4 separate regions of the Homo sapiens genome follow, and all the other regions are linked to region 3. The links are contacts of gene promoters, found by promoter capture Hi-C in human tissues and cell types (Jung and others, 2019). All regions are on one chromosome and are shown on one strand. Each heading gives the region's core, a stretch centred on a gene start or on the middle of the fragment in contact. The rest is flanking DNA. Distances are from core to core; before and after follow the strand shown. Region 1 holds the start of CACNA2D3-AS1 (CACNA2D3 antisense RNA 1). Region 2 overlaps CACNA2D3 (calcium voltage-gated channel auxiliary subunit alpha2delta 3). Region 3 holds the start of WNT5A (Wnt family member 5A). Region 4 overlaps CACNA2D3 (calcium voltage-gated channel auxiliary subunit alpha2delta 3).

Region 1 (6,782 bases), core at 413-2,912, 590 kb before region 3:
TTTGCACTTCTTCTGAGAAGCGTGTTTACCTTCTTTACACTTGCTCTAAGAAGAATGAGATCTACTTAAGGAGTTGATTCTCCCAAGGGTATGAGTATATGTGTGTGAGTATTAAAGCCAGACAAAGCTTTCTTGTTTAGAGGGGACATCCTTGGGTTTTCTGATAGGATTTCTGTAGGCTTTGTTTGCTTGGCTTCAGACTTTAAGACAATTAGTTCACTAGATATACAAGGAAAAATCATTTTACCCACTCAGAATTTGACTCCCAGAGCTCTGCAAGATGTTTTTGAGTAATCTGGGGTGCACAGTGTTAAGTGAGGCCCCCTCTATACTGAGAAAGGCAAGTTGGGGTTCTAAAAGTGAACACTGGTTTTACCTGATGAAGGCTGTCGGGGTGCTCCAGGCCCACCTTTACTCTGCTGAGTGATGCATGTTCTTCTGATTCTTTTCCACTTCAAGGGACTTCCTGAAAGCTGGCGACAAGGAGAACATTTTTAACGCAGACCATTTCCCTCTCTGGTACCGAAGAGCCGCTGAGCAGATTCCAGGGAGCTTCGTCTACTCGATCCCATTCAGCACTGGTGGGTGCCCTTGTTGGAGGCGGGCTCTGTCTGTCTGGTCCAGTGGGTCTGGGCATTGTGTGCAGGGTGTTGGGGAGCTGCCTGAATGCTGAAAGGAACCAAGTTCAACCCTCAGAGCCAGTGCTGAATATTGGGTCAGCCCTGAACCAGTGACCAGTTCCATAAGAGTAATAGCCTCAAAGAAAAGGAAGGTTTTTCCTTTACCAAATTATGTAAATGTATTTCAGGAAGCAGGGCTGATGTTTTGCATCCTATGGGATTTTAATAGAAACTTGTCAGTCAGTTTTTTTAAATGTAGTCATGGCCCCACTTAGAGAAAATTCAAGCATCCCTTGCCAGAACCTTCAGTGAGTCACATCCCTGCAGAGGTCCACTGTTCCCCATTTGAACTGAATTGATTTAAACTGATATGCCGGACTAAGGACTGACTTTGTATAACCATGTGCTCTCTTGACAGGAGCCTGCAGTTACCAATGACAGGCATGTAGCCGATTAGTTTTTCAGTCCTAAGAGTTTATGATATGATAGTATAAAAAATTAAAGTCACCTGCCTCCAAAAAGAACTGAATGATGTCTTATTTCCACCAGTTTTGGAAGCAAAACATACTGGAAATGCTTCAGTTTTCCTCGTATTTTTTTTTTCTCTTGCCTCATGCATCTGGTATTTTGGGTGCTCACTCTATACTGCTTATTGCAGAAACTTGAGAGATGAAGGAAACCTAGTTCTGTAAACTTGGGTTGCTCTGGAAAGTTCAATCTGTAGTTATATTTTACATATATCAGTTCCTTTCATATTAATCTTCTACAAATATTCCTAACTCAATCCTAAGGGAAGTTCTCCAGGGTTTGTGCCCAATCCCCCTCCCTAAGGCTTGGTGCTTTGTCATTTCCATGACTGAAAATATTTTCAGAAAGGGTGCTTTTGAAATTTGTAGAAAGCAAAGAGTGCTCTTACAATTGGTTGAATGGGCTCATTAGGAAGACAGTCCCTCATCAATGGACATATTTAAGGAGAGGCTGAATGTTATTGATGAGATTCTTTGCTGCTTGGGATTTCAGACTAGATTATCTGTTAGATTCTTTTCAGGTCTAAGGTTCTTTGGGTCTGTGCTCCTTTGCTGATAGACCTGTGTGTATGCCTGCCTGTAGTTGTGTGTGCTTTCTCAAATGTAAATTTCCAGGTGTCCGAAGCTCGCTTGCTTGCTTGCTTGCTTGCTTTCTTCCTTCCTTCCTTTCTTTCTTTTTTCTTTCTTTCTTTTTCTTTTTCTTTTTTCTTTCTTTCTTTCTTTATCTTTCTTTTCTTTTCTTTTCTTTTCTTTTCTTTTCCTCTCTCTCTCTCTTCTCCGCCCCACCCCGTCTTTTTTTTTTTTGAGACAGAGTCTTGCTCCGTCACCCAGGTTGGAGTGCAGTGGCATGATCTTGGCTCATTGCAACCTCTGCCTTCTGGGTTCAAGCGATTCTCCTGCCTCAGCCTCCTCAGTAGCTGGGATTACAGGCACCCGCCACCATACCCAGCTAATTTTTGTATTTTTAGTAGAGTTGGGGTTTCACCATGTTGGCCAGGCTGGTCTCTAACTGCTGACCTAAAGTGATCCACCCTCCTTGGCTTCCCAAAGTGCTGGGACCATGCCTGGCCTGAAGCTCTTTCTTTGTGCTTGTCTGCACCACACTTTGTTGCTGAAAATATCAAGAGACAGTGAACTTTTTCATTCTGCTGCAGACCTATGAATAATAACATTGTCTTCTGTCAAGCAATCTCTTAAGACTTCCTTGTCACAATCCTCTAAAGAAAAATAATAGAACTTAGCTTGCTGTTCTTCTGATTCTGGAATCATCGAGTTAACTAAAGCTGTTGTTGGATTGGTTTTTGGTAACTGGGATTTTCACCAAACTTTCAATGTAATGGTATAATGAAGTGAGTTTACCTTGTTCATGACAAAGTTACAGATGACGTAACATCTTAGGACATTTCATAACCCCCTTAGAGTCCGGGAAAATCTTAAAAATCACCAACTGCAAGTCTCTGTGGTGGAGCTCTCTCTGATTTTCTCTGCTATGTGTTGAATACCTGTACAAACTAGAAAAGAAACTGGTTTTTATTGCTGCTTAAACTTGGGCCAGGAGAAAATTTCTCATTACTTTGGTCCTAAGTGTATTCATATTCAGGTTTGACTTTTCCCTGCTTCTCAATTCAATTGGATTTCATCCAACTCACTTTCATTGAGCACCTTTTAGCAGGTGGGCATTGGACTAAATTATTAACTCCAGGCATTCAGAATTTGTGCTCAGTATCTTTTAATTCGTGGATATTGGAACCATTGCTGGTAATTGAAAATCTCTTAATACTAATGCCATATTGTTACCAGAATAATAATAGTTTGGAGTGAAGATTATGCTCTAGCTCTATCCCTGTTTAGAATAATTTTGCCCAGAAAAACTGGGCTCGAAATTACAATTTTATAGATCAGTAAAGATTTAACCAATGAATCAGAGCTAAAGTTGCCAACTTGTAAAATAATTTCAAAGCCCTCATACAGCTCTTCATGGTTATATTTAGACAGGCAGTGTAAATATGACCACTGACACAAGTAAACACTGCAATTTGAAACCACAGATTACCAAAAAATGTGGTCCCTCGATGGTGGTCAATGGTTTCGATGTGAAGAGGCTGGATGTTCCCCAGTGCACTGGTGGTCATAACTCAACTCGCCAATTCCTTCAGCTGGGAGGACTCGCAGCACTGCACTCATGGCCTGGCAGCGTAGGCAGAGCATCCACACCTCAGAGGACTCTGGGGCCTGGGACCAAGCCCCAGAACAATTTGCAGAATTGGTGACTGTAGACCGATATGATTACTCTCTTAACGTGTACACTGTAATTATCTTCATTTTTGTTGTGGTGTTTTTTCTTTTCACAGGACCAGTCAATAAAAGCAATGTGGTGACAGCAAGTACATCCATCCAGCTCCTGGATGAACGGAAATCTCCTGTGGTGGCAGGTAAATAATTGATTGAATCCATGAAGACAAAGTAAGCATGGCGCCCATTCATCCGGCCAGTGGGCTACTTCTGTGAGGCACGCTTATCCTCCAAAAAGGTTTTCAAAGGAGAAAACAATTTTAAATTACTTCCTTCTCAGCTTGGTGTCATCTCCTTCAAACCAAGACTCTGACAGCTGGTGGTGGTTGATGTGAAAACAGAAAACTTTCCCAGCGTTTCTATCCTTAAACTCTGAGCCAGTAAGAAATTGTCAGTACTTGCCGAGGAGAATTTCTTGATGGTAGGTAGCATGTTCATTCAAAGTAAACTCCAGATCTCCAGCTTCTGTGTCATTAGGATGACAGTGGGCATACAAGGAAATTGCAGGTTTGTTTTAGGCAAACACAAACTGAAATGTGCCCTTCTCCAGAGAGACTGAGATTTTCATCCCCCTAATCCCCCTGGGGAATTAGAGTTAGCTGTATCTGCAGGTGCTGTGTTTGGGACCAGGGGAAAGCCAAAATATTATATGACTGAGAGTCTTGAATTGTCAAAGAAGTCCCGTTTCTGGCTTTTTCCATTTCTCTCACTTTTTAGGAGTGTCAGCAGCTGTCTGTGGATGGCTAGGGGCTTTCATTGGTGGCATTTGGCCTAAAGGGCTGGCAACTACCAAAAAGCCCTCTTTGAAGACAGATGCTGACATAAAAACAAGGCCCGAGGGTGTGTCTGGCACATGGTTTATTCTGATCACTTTGGAGCCATTGGTTGATGGGTGGGTGATATGCTCCAAGCACCATCCTGGTATTGGCTGGGTTTACTAAAGAGAGCGATTTTTGTTTTCCAGCAGTCTCCCTCAATAAGTTGTACTTTAGGGTGACTTAACATCCACTTCTGTGTCTTCACACACTGAATATTTGTGGGAAGGAGTATAAATGGAGCAGATGGAGGAGACCTGTTTGAAGTGGTTGTTCTTTGGCGAGGAAATACTGCTTTTTTCCCCCCACTTTATTTCTTACTTGGCCTGTGTATAATTGTATTAGTAGGGTTGAAAGATCTGGGGGTAGTTGCCCTGGTTATTCCTGAGTTACTGGGTGTGACAAGGATGACAGCCTTATGTATCTGACCTGTGGCTCATCTTGAACTAAGCAGACCTATTCTTAATCAGCCAGGAGATATGGGCTCTGAGGATTCACAGTTGCTGTCTTCAAATTTTGTCACTTAATGTCTCATGTTCCTTGAGGAAAGTGGGAGACGGGATCATTTAACTCAACAAGATTTACTTATGCTTAAAGGAGGTCAGGCTTGCTTACCTCCAGGCTGGTCCAGCGAGCTAATTCTGAAGGCATGTTGTCTCCCGGGAGCTGAGGCCACATGCAGCAGCTGTCAGTGACATGGTCTGGCCAGAATATCTGGTTGTCTGTTTGAAATTTCTTTTTAAAACCCTTTCTTTGGGTTTCTAGTTTAGTCATCATGAAGGATGAGCCCTAAGGTCACTGTGCCTGTCCCAGCCACCTCTGTCCAAGTTTACAAACTATGCTCACATGTTTCCAAATGCCTTACATTTCATAAATGCCTGTTTGGCTGAGTATAGGTGAAACGTGGTCTGAGCCTGAACACTGTGTATCCAGTCTAGAGAAGAACGTGCACTTTCCAAATGCTATGCCAGTCTATTGTCGAGTTGCATCGCTGGCCATAGACCACAGGCAGGTCACGAGACACAGTTTGGTCCACCCTGAGTGGGTGGAGAAGGCACCCTCCTATTTACTGCTTCTCTGTGTATGCCAAATGGCCCCCATTTTCAGAAGATAATTACAGAGCAAGGCCAAGAAGCAAGGTCATTTAAAGAACCGTATTTAGTCCTTACCTTTTAGAATTGGTGACTGTTACCCTTTTTCAAACTTTGGTAGACGTAAGATAAAACAGAATTGCTTGGTTTTGATGTTGAAGACTGCTGTGGATGCAGCCCCACGAAGGCAGTGACCTCAAGAAGACCTCTCTGTCTCCAAAAATAGAGCGGCCTCTTCAGCACCCCCTCCCCAAGTTTTCCTGACTCTGACTCAACCATCATATCACTGTGTGATTAGGTTTGGTAACTTTCCTCTGTGTATTTTCCTCAAATTAAGTAGACACTGTTTACCACTCTAAAATTAAAAAGGCCATTTTAATTGGGGAAGAAGCCTTGTTTTGGCAGATGAAGATGAATATGTGAGCAGGCTTTTCTCCCATCAGTGTGCCCCAACAGCAGATGGGAGACAGCCGACTGGCAGGAATGTTAGGTCTCAATGAAATCCTTGTGTTAAAGTGGAACTCTTCTGAAAGAAGAGGTGTACAACTATGCAAATAATTATCAAGGACTCCTTGGAAAGGCCAGCTTCGCTCCCAGGCCTGACCTGGTCATCTCATGTTCATTGGCTATATATGTCTGGGGTAGAAAGAGGTTTTTTTGTTTCATTTTCTTGTTTTTTGTTTTATTCTCTTCTTTCTCTTTTGTGTGTTTTCTTTTTTAAACAAAAACATTTAGATACTCATCTGTCAATGACACCTTTGAAGAAAGGCCAGTCAGACTGGGCAAGATTCCATTTGTACGCCAGCCTTGGTGCATAAATGGGCCCCATCCATCTTCCCGGCCTATGACATTGCTTACAGTCCTTCTCTTGAGAAGCCTGCCAACTCTCCAGCTGCCACCAGTGTGCTGCATTTTCTTAATTGCTTTCCCACTGCACAGGAAGAAGTGGTGGGACTCTCCCTTTGGCCTACCAAGTCTCATCCTAGCCCTGGAACCTTCTGTTGTGTCAGGTCCCTCATCCATTGCATTGTTGTCACTGGAAATGCAGATCTTGGACTGTAAGGTCCACGCAGTTTGTCATTCACTCTATAACTTGCTAAATGTGTGGTCTTGGGTCTCTAAAGTTCTATCTAAAATAGGCTTGGGATTATTACCTCCCTTGCCTTCCTGTGTGTCAATTCAGGGATAAAATGAGAAAACAAACAAGAAAATTCTTGGATAAGAGAGAAGAATAAAAATGCTAGAGTTTAGCATAACCCGTTTTTATCTAAAAGTTGGTGGCATATTCATTCATTCAATAAATAAATATTTCCTGAGCCTCTGCTTTTGCCAGGCACTCTAGCTATAAATAAATAATAACCAGTGTCTTAATCCATTTTGTTTTGTTATAACAGAATACCACAGAATGAGTAATTTTTTTTTATTTAACTTTATTTT
Region 2 (6,243 bases), core at 3,652-6,151, 610 kb before region 3:
AACCCAAGTTTAGACAAAATAACTTTGCCATTTGATAAAAGCTCCTTCCTCCTCCATACCCTTTTCCCCGCAAGCCAATGAGCTGACATAGTGTCAGCTCAATAGCATGGTCGAGTTTTCTATCTTCTTATTCCTTAAACACTGTCACAAGGATCCGGTCAGTTCTTAGGACTGTCCTGCACCTAATGTGCCCACCCTGGCTTAGCGCAATTGTGAGGAGTGCCACTCAGGTTTTAGACTCCTGCCAGGTTCAAATCCCGCCTTCTCTGCTTGCCGGATGTTTGTCTTGGGTGAGTGATTATGCCTCTCTAGACTTCAGTTTTATTTTGTGTTCTTTGTTTTATTTTTCCCCAAGAAAATGAGTGTGATGGCAGTTGTCCCCACCTCATAGAGCTGTTCTGAGGATTAAATGGATTAATAGATTGAAAAACAGAGAAGTACTTGCACTGTTCTGGGGAGTAAGTAAGCATTCTACAAGTGGTAGCCATTGTTAGTATTATTCTGACCTCCTCAGTCCTCAGGGGACCCTGTCATGAATGAATGTCCTGTGGATTTACAGTTGCTAGGAATCTTTGGAGGGGACTTTCCATTGTTGCCCTTCCTCTTCCTTCTTCACTTTATCTGTTGATTTATTTTTTTTGTTGTTTGCTTGTTTGTGACCTCACTGAATCGTCTCCCTTTTTGCATGCTACTTGAAGAGATGTATGACTCAGCTCACTCCAGTCATCACCTGTGCCCCAGCTAATTTTCAGTGAGCGAATGTCTCCTTTAGTAATCACAGTTTGGGAACACTTTGTATCTCCTCATCCTACTTTGCTTTCTCGTTGGAGCTGCAGGCATTGGATTCGCAGCCTCACGTGTGTGTTCTTCACCTCCACATGACACCCAGGACTGCGTTCTGTCTGTCCAACTTCAGAGTTGGACATCTCAAGCAAGTCCAGTGCTTTTGTTCTGCACAAATTGTTCTCTGGTTACGTCTTTGGTTTGAGTCTCTTAACTTGTCGCCTTGGAATATGGTGCATTTGGAATGTGAATTCCTTCTCTATCAACATATTTGACTTGGGAAAACCCAAACCACCATTTCTCTCCTGGGGATTTGCATGTCACTAATTGGAGAATTCTGGAATCTACAGAAAGCATCATTGTGAAGTCTGCACAAAATCTTACATATCCATGTGCTGGGCCTTGGGATTTGCACCTGAGTAGCAGAGGACAGGGTTTAGGTTGAAATCTAGGAAAGAACATGTAAGCACAGCCCACTGAGGAAGAAGCAGTAGAGTCTGCCCAGATGCAGAGAATTTCTTGGAAGGTGAGTTCTACTTCTCTAGGAAGTAGGCTCCTGAATTTAGTAACCACAGTTATAACCTGCATACTTCCAAAAATGAAGTAAGTTCATATATACTGTTACAATGTATATAAAATAGACTGGCTAAAATTAAAAGAAAAAAAGACAACAATTTAAAACTATTTATAGCAGTATGAGCAGGACTTCTGTCCCACTCTGCAGGATGAGTTAGGCATCAGGGCAGGAATACAATAAGTAGGGCAGATCTTTGGCGGACCCGTGTGCCAGCAGGGGATTTTGAGACATGCATAGCCCAGTCTGAATTGCCAGTGTAGATCCCCTCTGGGAAGGGAAAATTATCTTAAAAATAGCGTTTATCCTTTGGTTATAAATTCTCAGAGATGGCACAAGGAATTGAGGGTGATTTTTTTGTTTTGTTCCTATTAACTTCCAGTCATTCCCAAGCTTTCCACATTGAATGTGATTATTAATAGAAAAAAACTCATAAAAATAATAACTGCCATATATTAGCTCTTCCTGTACACCAGTACCATTCTAAGTTCATGAGTGAACTTATTTATTTATCACAGTGAACCTATGAAATGGGTGTTTTATCTCCATTGTACAGGTGAGGAAACTGAGGCAGAGAATGGATGTAATGGCCTAAGGACATAGAGTGTGGATTCCAACTCAGGCAGCCTGGCCCACAGAGCCGTGGTCTTGACACTTGGATATTCCATGGAGAGAGCCCTTAAGTCCTTGAGTCCAGGAGTCCTTGAAGACTCTATTTCAGTGACGCATAGTATATGGGTTATCCTCCTCGGGGGGTGCAGAAAAGATAGGGAGTGCCTTGCACATAGTAGCTGCTAAACAGATGTTTGTCTGCATGGTATTGTTGTGAGTACTGCCCCATAGATGCTGCTTTGAATCTAACTACAATCCCTTCTGTTGTGGTAAAAGCCTTTTTTCCCCTACTACCCTCTAGGCAACTACATTGCTTCATACCCATGATGACTCTGATGGAAAATTTCTCCGGAGTCTTTTTTGCCCGAAGCCCTATAAGGCAAAAAAGCCTTTTTCATGGGACATATTTCTGAGACCTTAGTCCATTTATTTGATTCTTTTTTATACCCTTCCCAGAGTGTCTCTCCAGCTCATGCTTGAGCTCTGGACACCCAAACTAAGCACAGCACTCCCCCACCCCCTCCAAACCCAAACTGACACATAGGGGAGGAGGAAGAGAGAGAGAATGTTTTGCAGGTTCTCCATGCTCAAGTCTGTTTTCCTACGCTGGTTGAATGCTTGCTTGGGAATGACAGACCTGTTTATCCACTGTGTCTCCCTTCCTCTTTAAACTGCCAGCTTGTCTGTGGTTGCATGTCATTAGGGGCTTAGAAATGCAGGCTGCCTGTGCACCAGAAAAGGTGAGGCTCACGTTCTAATGTGGACAATGAGCCACCATTAGGAGCACGAGCTATCATTCCATAATCATACACACAACTTAAGGTGGCCAGTGAATCTCTGGGGAAAGCTTCCTTAATGAACTGTAACATGGCTGGTCAGAGTAGCAGACTAACAATGAAACAGGAAACGTGGCTTCCACCTGTAACGAGGTTGGCAGGAAAGTGGGTGCTTTGAGTGGTTATCCAAGGAGCTTCTGCTTCAGCACTGCAGAAGAGAGACACATTCACCAGGGGCTCTGGAGAAGCACATCTGAACTGGACAATGCAGGGCCCAGGGGAAAGGGTGGTTCCCAGAGAGCGGAGAGGCTGATCACTGTCGCCAGATGAGTATTTTCAGCTTGAGGAGATTTTACCTTTTATTTTATTGAGTACACTGTGGTACAAGCTGCTTTAATGTCCATTGCATTACCACACTTGCGAATGCTTGATATCTGATATGGAAAAATCAAGGTATGCCACTGATGTTTTAATTTGCCTTTCTCTGACTATGTGTTAAGTTGAACAGCTGCACATGGGTTTTTTAATGACTACATAATATGCTAACATATGGGCACATCAAAACTTGTTTGGAAATTTTCCTCCGCCAGGCCATTTGCATTTTTCCAGTTGTTCACTGTTGTAAATCCAAGCAGTGGCAAGTTCAAAGCAGTGAACATCTTGCCCTCCCCGCCTTAGGTGGGGACTGATTGCATTGCTCTTCCCCATCACTTTGGCCTGTGCTTAGGACTCCTCTGCCGTCTTACAACCTAGGGGTGCCACTCACTGTGATTCTGGGCAAGTTGCTCCTCTTCTCAAGCCGCAGCTTCCTAAGATAAAAAAGTGACATTTCTAGAATGTTCCAGCCTCACAGTGCTGTATTCTCACAGGGCAGTCTATTAAGTCATCAAACTCCCTTTCCTCCTCTGGCAAGGAGGACAGAAAGCCACCTTCCTGTCAACCCTAGATCATAGTACTTAGAGCTCGTAGAAGAGTCTGCCAGGAAGTTAGGACCTCAGACTATGACGTGGTCAATTGTTAAAACATTTTATTTGATTTTTAAAAACTCAGAAATAATATATGATTTTTATATTAATGCTATAAAGTATTTAATGTTGTCCAAGTGCTTTCTCTTCTGATTTGGGAAGCAGAGGTTAAGAGCATGGGCTCAAGAGGCAGAGGCCTCGTTACCCTGGGCAAACTTCTTATCTGTGCCTATTTCTCCACCTGTAAAATGGAGATAATAACAGCACCTCAGAAGATAAGTTTGAGGGGTTTAAAATCTGTGCCTGACACACAGTAAGAGCTCAGTAAGAACTCAGTAAACAGTATCTCTCAGTAGTATCCGAATTTCATAGGAATCTGATGACCTCCCTTTTTATAGCCCCTGACAGGATCCCTGGGATCTGGGAGTCCTCACTCATGAACACTTTAGACAGAATGAATGAAACAGGAAGAAAGTGAGCCACAGAGAGGTCACGGGACAGCTGGCTTGTGTCAGTGGCAAAACTTGAACATCGATATCGTGGTTTACCTCTTTACCTGGGGCTGTCTCCTTTTCGGTCTATGTAAACCTACAGGCAGTTAAGAGCAGCAGTTTTCAATGTGGGGAGTTGGAGGAGAGGTCACAAAATCCATTTAGTGGTTCATGAGCAACATAGCAACGAAATCTACTAAAATAGGAGATAGAGAGGGGCTCATCAGAGTAAGATGTATTTCTTACATGGCTCAAAGTCAAAACAGTTTGGAAAACATTGAGCTTGGGCATCTGCCTCAAGCAAACTCAAGTCCGAATCCTGATGCTTTAAGCTACTGAAAGGTGTCTGACACTAAGTGAAAATGAGCAAGATGGTAATGAGGATGACGATGATACAGATACTGTTGACTGTGGTGTTGATGATGATGGAGGATAGCTAGCATGTATTGAGTGCTTGGGAGGCACCAGACACTCTTCTAAATATTGACTCGTCAGTCTTCACTACAACTTAATGGGATGGGTGCTGGCATTAGTTCCATTTTTCAGAAGAGGAAGCTGAGTCACAGAGATGGTAAGTGATCGAGATACCCAAGATCATAAAGCTCTGGCTCCAGAGTCCATTCCTTAACTACAGTGCCATCCTGCTTCACTAGTAGGTTCAATAAGTATAACCTGTTTTTGTTATGATTTAAGACAAGGGCAAGACTAAAGGAGGCATCAGTGACCCTGGCCTTGGACACTCCCAGACCCCCATGTTGATTGTTCTGTGCTACTGGGAGTTGGGGGTGGGGTGGCATGGAGACACAGCGAGGCTTACCTAATCTCTAGTTTGCCTGGGGAATGTGAGAGGAGAAGGTCCCAAATGGCTTTAGGCAGGCACCAGAAAGAGGAAAAATGAAAACCATGTTAAAGATAAATCGAGCCGTTCTTAAAAGTTAGAAAGTAGACTTAATTAGGACCAGCTCTCCCTGTCCAAAACCACAAAAGTTAAAATGGGAAAATATTTCCAGAAATGCCTATTATGTGTTGTTAAAAAAATATCTAGAGTAAAATATATGTTTTATTTTATACATGCCTCCAGCTAAAAATTATGCCTTTACTCACTCACACAGAAGATGAGAATGCAAACCCAAATCTAGACAGCCTCGAATCAAATTTAGGTTGCTTGCTAGTGTTGCAGTTTTCTATCGGCCAGATCTTACTCAAGCTCCTCAAAGGAGAAAAGAGGGGAAAAGATGAAAAAGACAAGAGAGGGGTGGGGAGAGAGCCTTTCCTGACAGGCTGTGGCATGTCAGCGTTTGCTCCTATTCCATTAACTGGCCTTCTCTGTCGTCTTGCCTTGGTGCCCATGACGGCACATCTTTCATCACTGCGTCTGCTGTCCTCCTCTGAACTCATGGAAGGGCCACATGTAATTAGATGAGGTCAGCTGGGGGTGGGGGAGGAGAGCCAGGCTCGCTGCTCCTAAACAGGACCTCCAAAAAATCAGATACAGGGTCGCTCCTGTTCACTGCCTCATCAGCAAGGTCATTAATTGGCCCAGATTTCTCAGAGAGCATTTAAAGATGATTCATCTTAGGAAAGGCTAACCCCTGTCTTCCAAATGCTTGGCCTTTTTTTTTTTTTTTCTTCTTCTTTTTAACTACTGTGTAGGAAAACGTCTTTAACTTGATTACGTTTTGAAAAGTGATTTCTCCATGACAAATCAGTACCCTTTTTGAAAACGTACCTTGTCCCCAGAGACGTTCTTGCTCGGCATTTCAGCGGGTCTCCAGGAGTTCACGCTCTGACCCCCGGGATTCATCAGTATCGCCAAGGCTCTTTTGTTATTGTCCTGAAGTTTACACGAGCTCCCCAAATTAAAGATGAAGGTCATTTATTTATTGTTGTTAGCCTGTCTCCCATTGTACATGAGCAGTTGGGTGTTTTATTCTTCAGAAGCTCTGTTTTCGAGGTGTAAGTTCAATATGGAGGCTCCACTGCACGCTGAGGATGCAAGATGTCCAGATTACATGATAACCCAGGGAAGAACTAACACACTT
Region 3 (6,578 bases), core at 3,394-5,893:
AGGCCCAGTTGTCCCCAAAACGCTGCAAAGCTGGGGGGCGCATCCTGGAGAATGGAAATCTGGGGTTTCCCCAGCTAGGAGAGAGAAGGCTCCGGCTATCTCCCCACCCCCGCCCTAAGTGTCAAATTTCCTCCAGGGGAGGGAGTGGGCTGCAAAGTCTGCTTCTCGCGCAGCCCAGGCTGCAAAGTCAACTCTCCCCAAGGGCAGCCGATGCCGCGTGCACACACATCATACACATTCACACTCGTGCACATTTACACACTCACACGCGTGCATAGACACACACGCTGCGACATGTTTCCGAGTCAGCGGCCCAGATTGGTGCTGGCCGCGTGCACTTTCCAAGCTTCGCGGCGAGCGGGGCGCGTGGGGCGGGGCTCAAGCAGCAGAGAAATTGATAACAGATTCGGCGGATTACAGCGGATCTCTTTGTTAGAGCCGAAGCCACACAAACCGAACCCACTCCCAGCCCGAAGCCCCCAGGGAGAGTCCACCAGTTCCCAGAGCCCAGGCCAACTGAGAGCGGGCCCATCCGGTCACCAAGACTTGGGTCTCCCTGGCTCCAGGGTAGAGGTAGGCAGAGGGTGTCCCAAAGGGGGATCGGAAAGGAGAGCCTCACGAGTCGCATCTCCACTTAACCCCGCCGCTTGCCCGGAAACACCTTGGCCCTCTTCCCTCTTCAATCCCAGTGCAACCGAGAAAAGGCCCCACAAGTTTGAGACACTCAAAGAACTCACAGCGAACTCACACATACATCGGCTCTGTAGGGTAAAACATCCCCGCCTGTTTACCAAGAGATCAGATCCGAAAAGACAGTATGAAATGAGACCTCTGGGGAGACTGTCAACCCCAGGGGTAAAACAAAAATTCTGATCAGAAACTGAGTTTCCCAAAGAAGGGGCTAAATGTTTTCCAACACTTTCGGGGCTCAGGGAAGATGACTCTGTAAGGACACTGAGAATCTTCCTCGCGTGCCACGGGGAGGAGGACTGGGGGCGTTTGAGGGGCTCAGCGCACCAGAGGAGTGAGGTGGAGGAGGGCGTTCCCGCGTCCTCCTCTTCAATCCAGAGCAGCTCAACGACGTGGCTCCCTTTCTATGTATCCCTCAAAGCCTTCGCGTCGGATTAAAGGTGTTCTTGATCCTTCTTTACCAACCACGGTGCGGGCCAGGCGTGATGAGGGATGAGGGAGAGGAAACCTCAGTAGCAAAATTGTTCAGAGGACGTTCGGAGGGCGCGGGGAGCAGCCGGATGCACACCTAAAGTCTCGCAACACCCAACTCCTCCTCCGCAGGCAGTCCCTTAAGAGAATAGATAAAAAGGCCAAGCAAAGATCCTCTCCCCTCGGCCCCGGGGCACTGCCACATTCAGTCTAGGCATCCCCTTCTGCTAGACTCTCTACGTTTAGGCCCCAAGTTTCTGGGAGTGAAACGATGAGGGACGCCAAATAGGCGGAAGAAGCCCATTTGACCCAGGCTTATGGCAGCGAAGGGGAGGATGGGAAACTCCAAAAAGAATCTCCACTCTTGGTGGAAAAAGAAAGCTGTTTTCCCCACTCTGATCTCTCCCTAAAGCAAGGAGAGAGATGCAGAAACTAGCAGGAGAGCACTCAGTTGCAGCCAAAAACTTGGGACGTCCTGCCCTGGAGAATGCGGGGAGCGGCGCGAGGAGCTAAAGAATGGGCCGGCCCAGGCGGGTAGGAGGTCCGCTTTAGGGGAGCAGACAAAGGAGCCACTACTCCCTAAGCCTCACGCCTGGGCGCAAGGGTTGTGTCCACAGCAATATGTGTGTTGGCGCGCGCGGAGCGGGGTAGGGGAGGAGGGAATTGCCAGATAGAGAAGGCGGAGGTTACACCTTGAGCCAGAATCAGTATGACAAAAGAGAGCCGCCCAGGCCTCAACACTGACAGCAGGTTCCAGGTTCGGGTATAGAGAGGCCCCAGGGGAAGAACGGTCTGGCCTGGTTCTCCTCTGTTTCCTGCCCCCTCGTCCATCCCTTAGACTGGGCTTTCCAGGCCCCAGGATACACACACACACACACACACACACACACACACACACACACACACACACCACTCACACCTTCTCACATAGGATGTCTAGCCCTCTCGGCAGAGGATCAACTTTGTCCAGAGGTGGAGCAGAGTCCTTGGACAGAGGAAGAAAATGAAATGATAGTCCAACCCCCACTCTTTAAAGGTAGTTTCTCTCCCACTTTTTAATAGACGATTAAAGTGAGGCGAAAAGCGGGAAAGCAACACTTGTTCTCGATCATAGAGAGTTGGGAGGCAGCTGAGGCCAGACCCGAGGCCTCCTAGGGCGACACTCTCCTTCCCAAGCCCAGAAGAAGAGGTACCAACCCTGTGTCCAGCTGGCCGAGTCCCATTTGCTGGGCTGGACCCGTGGCCCCTTCCGTATTGCAGCGGCCGGCGGCGCAGCGAAACTGGTCCTCTGGGGGCCTCCGAGGGCCCCTGCTGGGAGAGTGGGGTCTGGTGGTCGGGAGGGATGAAGGGAGCAGGGGTGGGAGGGAGAGGGGAGCAGCTGCCCGCCCGCCCGCCCCAAGGAACCGAGGCTCGCAGGAGTCCTACCTCAAGGCGGCCAACAGGGGGCAGCCGGCACCGCACCGCGGGGAAGAAAAGGCCGCGGGGATGGCTCCGAGTTCTGCGCGCATAGTGCTAACCCCTTGAGCACCGGAGCGCACGGGGGAGGGGAGGAGAAGACAGGGGACTCTTGGGCCGGGCCTCCTGGGGAGGGTCTTCCGTTGAGAGGGTCGGGGGGTGGAGGAGACGAAGGCTACTACGTCCTGGACCCGAGAACAACTCCCCTACACACACAAACACACACGCACACACACGCAGCCAAGGATCCACACACTCGGACACACACACATTTGTCGGCCCGCGGTTCGCTGCGCACTCTCCGCATTGCCCCCTCGAAACTCCCCTGGCAGAGTCTGTCTAGAAACTAAATCTGGCTGGTTCGGCAGTGAATGTGCGAAGGTGGCTGGGGGGAGGGCAGGGGCTGAGGAGGTGCGACCTCACCGCAAGGCCCAAGTTACTTCCAAACAGCGAATTACCCATTTAAAGAGAGAAGAGAGAAAAGAGAGGCGAGAGAGGAGAAGGGGCCTCGATACCAGACAGGGATTAGAAAGTCAAACAGGGCCGTGGGGTCTCCAGACTTGAAGTTTTTTGTTGTTGTTTTTTTTAACTTTTTGGGGGGAAGAGGGGTTATTTGCTTCCAGGAAACATCTTAATTTCAATTCTAACCTTATTTTCTAAGAAACTTAAAATGGGAAAGACCAGAAAAATGGAAATAGGAATCGAAGCTTGGAGGACAGATAAGAAAAATTGTTTAGAAAATAAAAACTTATGTTGCAGGAAGAAACGTTAACTTTTCGTAAAAGTGAACTCTCAGTGACCCTCGGAGTGTGTGATTCGGCTTTAACATACAACTGACAATTAAAACAAACAAGAGTTCGCAAACTGGCCCCCGCCTGCTCTCCCAAAGCGGAGGCCCAAGTGTTTTCTAAAGGACAAGGCGGACTCCGCTCAGGGGGCCGGGGAGCGCTGTCCCGGAGTACGGGATTACAGCCACTACCACCACAACTCCCCGCCCCCACCACTGCTGCAAAGTGCCTGAGCTCACCCAGTGGCGGCTAATAATGCTAATAACGCGACCCCGCTCCCCGCGCCGGGGTGCGCGCTGGCCCCCCGCCAGGCACTCTTAAAGGCAAAGGGGCCTGAAGCGCTCGAGTTACTCGGCCAAGGCAAGCCTACAATCTGGCCTCCGTCGGTGCGGGGGGGTGTCGGGGAAGGTGTACGCCGCTCTGGAGTAGTTGGCCCCTAGTTCCTCTGCGGGTTCTCTCAACCAAGGAGTCCCTTTCCCCATCCCGAGCCCCGGCCACACACCGTCCCGGTGCCCGCGCAGTGGGCGCTTGGTAAATATTTGTTGAATTGAATCATTATCCTGTTACTGAAATATACATAGTAAATTACACTCGATGTTCTCAGAGCAAAAGGAAAGTCGTCAGTGAACCGCACTCAGTTTGTCTACTATCGCTCTTCCCCACTTTTTCTCAAAAATCAAAATTGTTTGCAGAACGGGTGGTGCGACCAGAAGTGATCTCCTGGGACACTGAGGCAGTGCGCCCGGCGTGGAGGGCGAAGGGGTAGGGGTTCCTGCCAGCGACGCTGGAGTTCCAGCTTCTTCAGGCGGTTGGGGAAATGGAGGGATAGGAAGAGGCGAAGGGAACTCAGTTAACTTCCAACAGGGGGTGGGGGGAAGTAAAGAAAAAAAGTGGCAGCGCACTGAACACCTACCTTCATGGCGAGGGGGAGGGGGCGCGGGGAGGAAGTCGCCACCCGAGCGAGCGCAGCCGAGGAATCCGAGCGGAGCGACCGGGTTAAGCCTGGGGGGACGGTCAGGAGCAGGGCTGCGGAGTCCTCCGGCGCGCGTCCGGCGGGCGCAGTGAACCGGAGCTGAAGCGGGCACTGGCGCCCGGGCCTGGACTCCCGAGTTGGGGCAGAGCTGGGATGCGCCCAGGAATGGAGGGGGCGCGGACGCGCGCGAGCCGGCAGCAAGGGCAGGGCCTGGTCGGGGCGCAACTAGGGAGCCGCCGGTCCGGCGAGGGCGCGCAGGCAACTGTTCCACGGAGAGGCGCTCCGTTTCCAACGTCCATCAGCGACGGCGGTAATTAGGGCTTTCCAACCCCAAATGTGGGCGTGATTGTGCAAAAGACCTTACGACAAATAATAATAAAAAGAAATTCTTCACAAGAGGGTGAAAAAAATGTACCACTACTCAACTGTGGCCCGGGGCGGGGGAAGGGGGGCGATCTGTGCGCCCAGGTGCCCCCAGTTCATTCACACCACAGATTCTGCAAACTCTTGGCGGCTCACGCCTCCTGATCTCCAGCTCCTCCTCTCTGGGTCTGTAGCCGAAACGTCTGCTTCCAGACGCTGATCCTGCAGCCGCGAGTTAGTGTGGACGTCTCTGTACACACACAGACACACACCCCAACACACACACCCCCGCTGCAGCTTTGGGGCCACAGAACAATCAGGCGCGCATGGCTTTTTCTCCGGGAGATGCCGCTGAAAACGCACAAGTCGCCATCTGAGCTGCAAGAGTCAGCCCCAAATTGTGTCCTTTCATTTTAGGGTTCGGCAAAAACGGGGAGCAAAATAGGTGAAAGTCGCCCCGGAACTTATTGCTGTGCGGTGAGCTGGAGGGGTGCGACTAACCCAGGGGAGACGCGGGCTCCCCCCCCCCACCACGTATCCCGTTCTTTCTCTCTTCGGGTTGATCTCTCTTTTCCCCGTTTTTCCAGGGCGAAGGGCGAAGAGCAGCGAGTGCACCGCGGGCGCGAGGCTGGGGAAGGGCGAGAGCTCGGAGCTCCGCGGCGGCGACTCAGCTCCGGCGGTCCATGGCCGGCGAAGCTGCCCACCTCCTCGTTTGGCGCCCGGGTCCGAGGGGCGGGAGAGCGGGCCGGCGGGAGGCGGGCGGTCCCGGGCACAACGGCGGCGGCGGAAGGGCTCGCTGGGCAGCTGCCGCACGGACCCCGGCTCTGGGCGGCGGAGGCGGCTCCGTGGAGCTCGCAGCAGATTTCCACGCGATCCTGTGCCCCGCAAACAGACTGACCGACCGCGGGGACGCGTCCCCCCCTCCCACCCCCCAGCCCTTCTGGCCAACTGCCTTACTCTCTCCCTCCCTCTCTCCAGACTCCTCTTTCCCCTGGTGTTCTCAGAAGGAAGAAAAAAAAAAAAAGAAAGAAAGAAAGAAAGAAAAAAGTTCTTTAAAGTTTCAGAACTAGGGGCGGCTGGAAAGAGAGAGGGAAGGGGGGGGAAGAAAGAAAAAACTCAACTTTGCTATGCGCATGCGTGGTGAGGCCGGCCTATGACAAACTCTGCAGGATTTTAAAGCCGTACTACGGGCTGGGGTGCCGGGAGGCGGGGTACACTCTCCTTGTCTCCCCTTCTCTAAGTTCCCCATCCCCCGCGGCATCTGCTGAAAGAGAGAGGTCCACTCCGCAGCCGCTGCCTGCCTGCCGCCTGGTTGTCTGCGCTCCTTCCAGAGCCACCGACCGGCGGGAGGCTGAACCCCAACTTCCCCGCCTGGACCCCTTGGCTCGCCCGCGTATCCCAGACCGCTCCCACTGGGGCTCCACGGAGACTGCTGCCTTGACATGGAACCTCATGGGGGACCTCCTCATTCTTACCTCTGGGGGAGGATACTTAAGCACTGGGGCTGATGGATAGGGTTAGGCGCTCACCTCCTGCAAAGTCCCCAGAGTAGTAGGGACTTGGGTAGTGGGATGCATGATTGCTCATCTGGCTCCGGCCCAGAGCATGAGGCGCGATGCGTGGTCCTGCCACGGAGATCTTGGCGGGTGCCCTCAGGTGAGGAGATTGCGAAGTTTGGCAAAACCGGGTTCCGGGCACCGGAATTTCTAGACGCTTCCAGATGCCCGTGGTTTTGGGGACTCCGGAGGGGCAGGGTTGGTGGATTTGTGTCCGCTACCTCCAGCACGCCGAGGGCCCCACCCCACAAACAGTGCCTCACACTGGAGCGTAATAGTTAT
Region 4 (6,752 bases), core at 3,939-6,438, 530 kb before region 3:
AAGGATGATGAGACTCCTTGGAAGGAATACTAGGTTTCATGAGAGACACTTGACATGAAATAGGGAAGGGCACCATTCATGCCACAGATTTGCCTTTCATGCCCATGCTGTTGTCAGCTATTGTATTTGACTGTCTGCATGGAGGTGCTTATGTGACAGATCTCTATACATGAAGATAATTTGCTCATCTCCTACCAAACTAGACTACAGTTGCATCTGTCAGGAGCTGTTTAGTGCAGGCAACAACCACCAAACTCAGATTGGTTTAAGCAAAATCAGTAAATTAAAGGAAGTTGATTATTTGATTATTTGGGGATGGTTGGAAATACATTGTTTCATGTAACTAAAAAGTCCATAGTTATAACCAGCTTCAGGTACAGTTGGATCTGGGGCTCAGCTGAAATCACCAAGTTTCTCAGTCTCTTGTTTTACTTTTCTTTGTGTCAGCCCTGTTCTCAAGCAGGCCTTCCTCATCCAGTGCCCCCAGTATTCATCTGAGCAGATTGGCAAACTCAGTGGAAAGAAACCCCCTCTTTCCTAAAAGTTTCAGTTCAATGTCCTGGGGCTTGTTCTCCTTGATATAGTTTTGGTCAGTGCCTATCACTTTGGCACAGGAGCATAGGATGCATCCCTATGCCTAGCAGGTGGAGGGTGAAGCCTACACATGCCACATGGACTGGAAATTGGAGTCATGACAGCTCCCCAAAGGAAATGGTCTAGGTGTGGATAAGGAGGGAGGGTCTCTGCTGCTGAAAAAAGGGGACATGCCTGCTCAGCTGGCAAAAGTAACAGCTGTCTATTATTCCAGCTCAGCTGGAGTTCAAATTAGTTTGAGCCATCTATGAATCACATCAGGCAAGTTGCTAGCCTCTTTGGATCGTTCATTATTGGTTTATGAAATAAGCAGGTTGGGTTCAATGGCCCACTCCACCATTCCAGCTCAGAACTTGTGTAAATCTACCCATTGATGCCATACCCAAGGGGCAGCACTGGAATCAGGGCACATTATCAACATTCTCAAGCGCATTGGTCACTTATTTCAGGCCTAATTGTGTTGCAAACAGTAACCTGAAAAACCGCCCAACATCGTTGGTCAGGGCCTCAGAAAAATTCAGAACTGGTTTTGCAGGGGCACACTCCACAGAAGTGACTGTGGTCTCTGCCACAGATAGATGCATCCTTAGGCTCCTGGATGGAAGACTTTTTTTGCCTGTGATTCTTTCTGAAAACTGGGCCCCTGCCAAGCTCATCTGGCATGCTGTGCTCTGGGTAGAAGTAATTATTTTTATGAGGCATTATTCATGTCTAGTCTACCTGAGGGCCACCCCAAATAATGTTTCTCTAGCTATTAAAGGCTTCATCAGGCATGCAGAGTCTCTAGTAGTTTCCTTTAGGGGAAAAGAAAAAGATTCGTCTTGAAGTCTACCACCTCCAGTGGCAATTTGCTGTGCATTTCAGGGCCATGCTAAGTGGTTGGCACCTGAAAAAAGGGCGAAGTCTTTTTCTTTCAAGTGCAGCTGGAAAATGGGAGTCATAAGTGAAAAGTAGGGAACTGGGAGAACTATTTCCATACAGCCGAGGTAGCTTTCTTGTTTTGTTCTGAGCTGGCAAACTTCAACATGCTCAAGCAATGTTTTGTCAAATTTCTTAAATGCTGAATGTGGCACTGGCCCAAATGAACGTAGATGTTATTTTAGTGCTGGGAGAGATTTATTTTAATGTACAGATGCAGCCACTACAAAGGCCCCTTTTAATCTGCTGAGGGCTCTGTTCCTTGCTCTTTTACTCTTTGCAACCCCCTCCTCATTTTAGGGAACCTGTGTATGCTGTGAAATTGCAGTGTTCCTTCCTTCCCTCTTCATCTTGCAAGGCAGCGATATAATGCTGACAATAATTATAATTAAGATGCTTTGTGCAAGAAGAAGCAGTTTGCAATGCTTCCTCCTGTTTCCCAGCCTACCAGCAATTCAAAGAATGCTGCTTGATCAAAGAAAATATGCCAACAGGAGAGTGGACCTGCACAGCTCCAGGCTGTGGCAGGGCAGCCTCAACAGTTTTCCTTATCTAGGACCCAGGTTCTCTACTCACGAAAGGAACCCGTTCTTTTACTGCTCGGCTGTGAGATGGGAAATCCATCAGTTGAGCTGAGCCTCAGATACCAATATCTTGCACCTTGATCGGGGCCAAAATAAACGGGAAGGGACGCACAGAGGAAGCATGGTGACATGTGAGGTTTGCCTGAGCCAAGTCTGTGCTTTCAAGGCAAGAGCAGGAGAGGAGAGCCACAGACAAGATGGGGTGAGAGGGAAAATAAAGAGGATACTCTCTGGGCTCAGTGGCAGAGGGGAAACTGAAGCCAGGACAGTCCTGAGTCTTCTCACACCCAAGGCTCCTTTTAAATAATCATTTGTAATATTCCCTTTACTATCTCCAAATGAAATTCATAGAAAATGTAACTTGTTTTCCTATATGCTGCCAAAAAAATCTACAGAACGCTCCAACTATAATATCAAGAACTAGTTGAGAGTTGTTTATAATAGGAAAATAGATATTGTAATATTTTGGGGCATAACTACAAGATAATACAGAATAAAGTAGCTAGATGCTTGTGCTGCACTTTGGTGCAAAATCTGTCAATGCAGTGGCCACTATGTAGACATCTCACCCACAAATCCTGCCAGATACCTCTGTAATAGCCAAGCCGCAGACAAGATAAAGAAGACCCATCTCTCTCTTTCACAGCACTATAGTAATGTTTCTAGAAAATTCCATGTGCAAGACATACTTTGTATTTGGACATAAAACAGAGTTCCAAGCCATCGACACCATTAGGGACATGGAACTGTTCTTTGGTGTGCGGCCCGGGGGCAGTGGGGTGGGGGGCTGCTGTCCTGTGAGTTGTAGGATTTCAGTTACTGTGAACTTTGAAGCATCTCTACAGACTTCCAGAACAGACCCCTAGGGGGTGACGCAGCCCCACTGAGAACCACAGGAGAGCCTGGGAGCCACAGGGCGGCTGGCTCTGAGTCAGGCGTGCAGGGCTCCAGTCCCAGTTCCAAGAAGTCCTGGCAACTGCACAGCCCTGGTTAAGTCACTGAACCGCCGTGTACCTTTTCTTTAATGGAGAAAACATCTTCTCCCTTGCAGGATGGCTGAAGAGTTAAGTAAGATAACACAGGGTGGGTTCCTGGCCCAGAGTGGGCCCTCAGTAATTCTATTTTCTGTCTTCTTAGGACCAGCCATGCTTGTTATTTTATTTTAATTTTTGGAGACGGTCTCACTCCATTACCCAGGCTGGAGTGCAGTGACGCGATCTCGGCTCACTGCAACCTCCCTACCCCAGGTTCAAATGATTCTCCTGCCTCAGCCTCCCAAGTAGCCGGGACTACAGGTGCCTGCCACCATACCTGGCTAATTTTTGTCTTTTTAGTAGAGATGGCATTTCACCATGTTGGCCAGCTGCTCACAAACTCGTGGCCTCAAGATCTGCCCGCCTCAGCCTCCCAAAGTGCTGGGATTACACATGTTAGCCACTGGGCCTGGCTGGCCAGCTGTGTTTATAAACTGCCTCCTGCACCCCTGTTGGTTCTATACTATTTCTTCCCTCTGTAACCGCCTTCTTAGAGACAAAGGATGTTGGCCTTGCACTCTGCAGCACCCCTGTGGGCACAGGTTTCCTAGAAACTAAGCCCCCCAGGGCTCTGATCTCTCTGGGGCCCTGCCTAGTTTCCCAGGAGGCTCCCCAGTTGTCTTATTTCTTCAGAGGGAGGCCGCAAACATGAAGGGTCTGGAGGCTCTGGAAGATGTCATGAGCATCTTAGGAGCTCTTTTTGGGCTCTCAGAGACAGATCAGTTCACAGATGTGGGAAAGAAAAAATAAAACATGAGGCAAAAACTTGCAAGAAAATGTGGACTTACCAATCTCATATTAAGCAGACGGAATGTCAATCTTTTCTATAGGGACAGGGTCATTAAATGCATATTTTTTGAAGTAATTTTAGGTGAGTCCCTTTGGCTCATTCATTATAGTTATTTATTTTCTGCTTCTATTCTGAAGTCAGAAAGATCTGGTGTTCATGGGTTCAAATTCTGGTGCCCGCATAGTTCCCTCCAGCTTCCAGATGGGAAAGCTCTCTCATCTGTTTTCCAGCCCAGCCACTCCAAAACCTCAATGCCCTCAGCTGTAGAACAGAGGGACAATGACAATATCTATCTATGAGGATTCCACGTGCTCTTTGGATGTTTTACAAATTCAGCAGAGTTGGGAATGTTCTGGGTGGTTGAGATGACACTAGGTCTGGCTTACTTGTCTTCCAGCAACAAAGGAGGAAACTTTTCATAGGGATTTGAAGCCTAATGTTCCTGAAGGTGACATGGAGTCTGCTTAGTGGATGGATTGTTGAGCAGGAGTCATTCTCCAGTCTTGGAAAAACTGTACAGAGACTCAACTGCAGGGGAGGAAACCAGGATATGGATTAAATAATGCATGTATTTAATGTACATACCTGTTGTTATGTGTATGTGTGGGTGACATTTACTGAATATTTACTATGTGCCTGGCACTGTGCTAGGCTCATGACATACATTAGCTCATTTAAGGCACAAACGTATAAGGTGTGCATGACTCCTGTTCCCATTGTGCAAATGAGAAAACTGACTCTGAAGGCATGCTGCATGTACATGAAACAGGCAGGACTCAGCCCTAAGTTTGTCTGAAATTTTCAAATCTGGGAAGGAAGCAGACACAGATAGTAACTAAGAAACTGCTAAAGTGGTGGGGCCCGGTAACACTACGGCTTCTTACCTATAGAGGTGAGACTCATGAAATTCCCCACCCTCAGTACAGATAGCACTGGGCCAAGATCATGGGACGCAGCTGAAGCCTTCGCGCTTGGTGGTCAGATGGCCCATGCTGTGCGTAGAGGAAAAGTACCAGTCATTACAACAAGGCCTCAGGAGACCTTATTCTCTCAAAGCCACTTCTTGCAATACTTGGACATCCACGATCCTTTCTATTTTAAAGACTTCTGTCCATGCTAAAAGGTCCAGTTCCCCAGGAGCTGGGAAGGAGGTGAGGATTAAGCCATTGTGCTGGTTGTTTCCCCCTTGCCTGTGAACGCTTGGGGCAACCTCGGGCTCCTGCCTCTGCTAGCTTGACAGGCTGTGGGAATCACTGGGAGTGGGTGAGGGGGGTGCACTGCAAGTCAGTGCGCACAACCCTAGGTTCTCTTCCAGGATCAGCCCCAAGCAGACCTGAGGAAAGGCCTGGGACTTGGAGTCTGAGTAGCCTCTTGAGGTCACCCCGTTTTGCTAAGTGCTCCATTGTTTATGTTCTTGTGTCATGAATAAGCAGAGGCCACAGATTTCAGTCCACAGATTTCAGGAGTGCCATCCATGCAGTTTTATTTGAATTCAACCTAATTTCCATCAGAAGTCTTCATTATCCTAGTAGGCAAGAACTTTCCATGAATTCAGTGTCTCTCTGCCTATTCCCAGGGTTTACCTGAGGCCAAAGAGAGAGGGGGTTATTTAATCATGTCATCATGCAGGCATTTCCTGAGTCACCCAGTCGCATCTGGTCTTCTGTCATCAGTCCAGGCACAGGTCAGTGCTATGGCCTCCTCATTCCAAGGGAAGGTCACCTTCGAGTCAGTCGGCAGCTCCCTGGGCCTCACTCTGAAGAGCCTGCGGGAGCACGAACACTTCCCCACTGAGTTGTCTGTCTGTGGCCTCTGGGAGGCTGTCTCCTTTCTGGCAGTAGCAGGGCTTAGAGCAGGGATGCTTTCACATTCTTCCCAGCAATAGGAGAGAAAGGACTGTGTGGAGCAGAATACTCCTCACTGCTCTGGTAGTTTCCAGAGTTAGACCCAAGGTAGGAAGGCAGATGCCTGCCCAGACATCAGGGTGCATATCTTTCTGTCGGGGTCTACCAGCCCTTCGGCTTCCCTTTGATTCTCTTCCCTTTCCAGTCCAAATCATCTTTCCTGAGCAGCTCGTTCAGGAGGCTGGAGGTAGGGTGTGGAGAAGACAGGGTGCAGAGAGGACAAACTGGCCCAGGCAGTTCCCCTGTTTTTCTTCCTGCCCTGAGATTCCCCAGGCCTCAGCTTTTGAGAGTCAAAAATCCAGAATCTGCTTCTTTGTTCTCTGGATTCCTGTGTGTCCTCCCTTCCCTGAGGCCTTAAGCATGGAATGCTTTAGCTGAGGGAACAGAGAAGAGCCAGGGGGTGCCAGGAATCTTCAGAAAGAAGAACAACTGGGTTTCAGAGTTATTTCTCAGAGACAGCATGAGAGGCGCCGATTAACCTCCTTGTGTCTGGACCACAGTGCATTTGCTCATTCATTTACTCATCTAGCTTTTATTGAATGCTTACTGGGCACCAGCTATGCTTAGGGAATATGAGAGGTGTAGAGAAAACTTCCCCTTCACCCTCTGAAGGTTTGCTGAAAATCAACTGACAAAAGACCGATTAGTAGGAGAGAAGACATACAAAATTATTCGAACGTACGTAACATGGGGAATCGTAGGAGAATGATTATCCAATAACCCAGTGGGGTACAGAAGCTTACATACTGTATATACATTTTTCACAGGGGACAGGGGAGATGGGGACCCACCCTGGAGGAGACGGGCAGACATTAGGGAAGGTGAGGGGCAGAGCTGCACAGGGACAAAGGTTGTCTTATTATGCAGATAATGTCCCGCAGGTAATCTCTTGAAGCTACTCTCAGAAGAACAGATGAAAAGTCTGTCT

What was found. Contacts are between HindIII fragments. The study calls those that stand out against the background at their distance.
Region 1: a fragment that was not itself captured here is called in contact with the fragment with the promoter of WNT5A in region 3 in 1 of the 25 tissues and cell types used here (IMR-90 fibroblasts).
Region 2: a contact is called between a fragment that was not itself captured here and the fragment with the promoter of WNT5A in region 3, in 1 of the 25 tissues and cell types used here (mesendoderm cells).
Region 4: a contact is called between a fragment that was not itself captured here and the fragment with the promoter of WNT5A in region 3, in 1 of the 25 tissues and cell types used here (IMR-90 fibroblasts).

What each region holds. Positions count from the first base shown.
Region 1 is chr3:54,896,290-54,903,071 of GRCh38, forward strand. CACNA2D3 (calcium voltage-gated channel auxiliary subunit alpha2delta 3) reads left to right here. Exons shown (of 38, transcript NM_018398.3): 26 at 460-581; 27 at 3,499-3,579. It overlaps CACNA2D3-AS1 (CACNA2D3 antisense RNA 1), which reads right to left and starts at 4,966. Exons shown (of 7, transcript NR_046666.1): 1 at 4,870-4,966; 2 at 377-669. The HindIII fragment of the contact is 8,357 bases long and covers 1-5,841 here.
Region 2 is chr3:54,872,758-54,879,000 of GRCh38, forward strand. All of the region lies in intron 18 of CACNA2D3 (calcium voltage-gated channel auxiliary subunit alpha2delta 3), which reads left to right. It overlaps CACNA2D3-AS1 (CACNA2D3 antisense RNA 1), which reads right to left. Exons shown (of 7, transcript NR_046666.1): 4 at 5,931-6,187; 5 at 4,259-4,397; 6 at 3,512-3,554; 7 at 1,848-2,953. Among named protein-coding and RNA genes, the nearest start is that of CACNA2D3-AS1, 25 kb to the right of the region's middle. The HindIII fragment of the contact is 5,236 bases long and covers 2,284-6,243 here.
Region 3 is chr3:55,482,663-55,489,240 of GRCh38, forward strand. WNT5A (Wnt family member 5A) reads right to left here and starts at 4,644. Exons shown (of 5, transcript NM_003392.7): 1 at 4,318-4,644. The coding sequence starts at 4,323. WNT5A-AS1 (WNT5A antisense RNA 1) reads left to right here and starts at 4,956. Exons shown (of 2, transcript NR_046656.1): 1 at 4,956-5,217; 2 at 5,328-5,646. RefSeq lists an enhancer at 6,268-6,578. The HindIII fragment of the contact is 9,126 bases long and covers 1,835-6,578 here.
Region 4 is chr3:54,948,601-54,955,352 of GRCh38, forward strand. All of the region lies in intron 27 of CACNA2D3 (calcium voltage-gated channel auxiliary subunit alpha2delta 3), which reads left to right. It also overlaps a transcript of LRTM1 not described here. Among named protein-coding and RNA genes, the nearest start is that of LRTM1, 24 kb to the left of the region's middle. RefSeq lists enhancers at 4,257-5,249, 5,250-6,242. The HindIII fragment of the contact is 4,629 bases long and covers 2,875-6,752 here.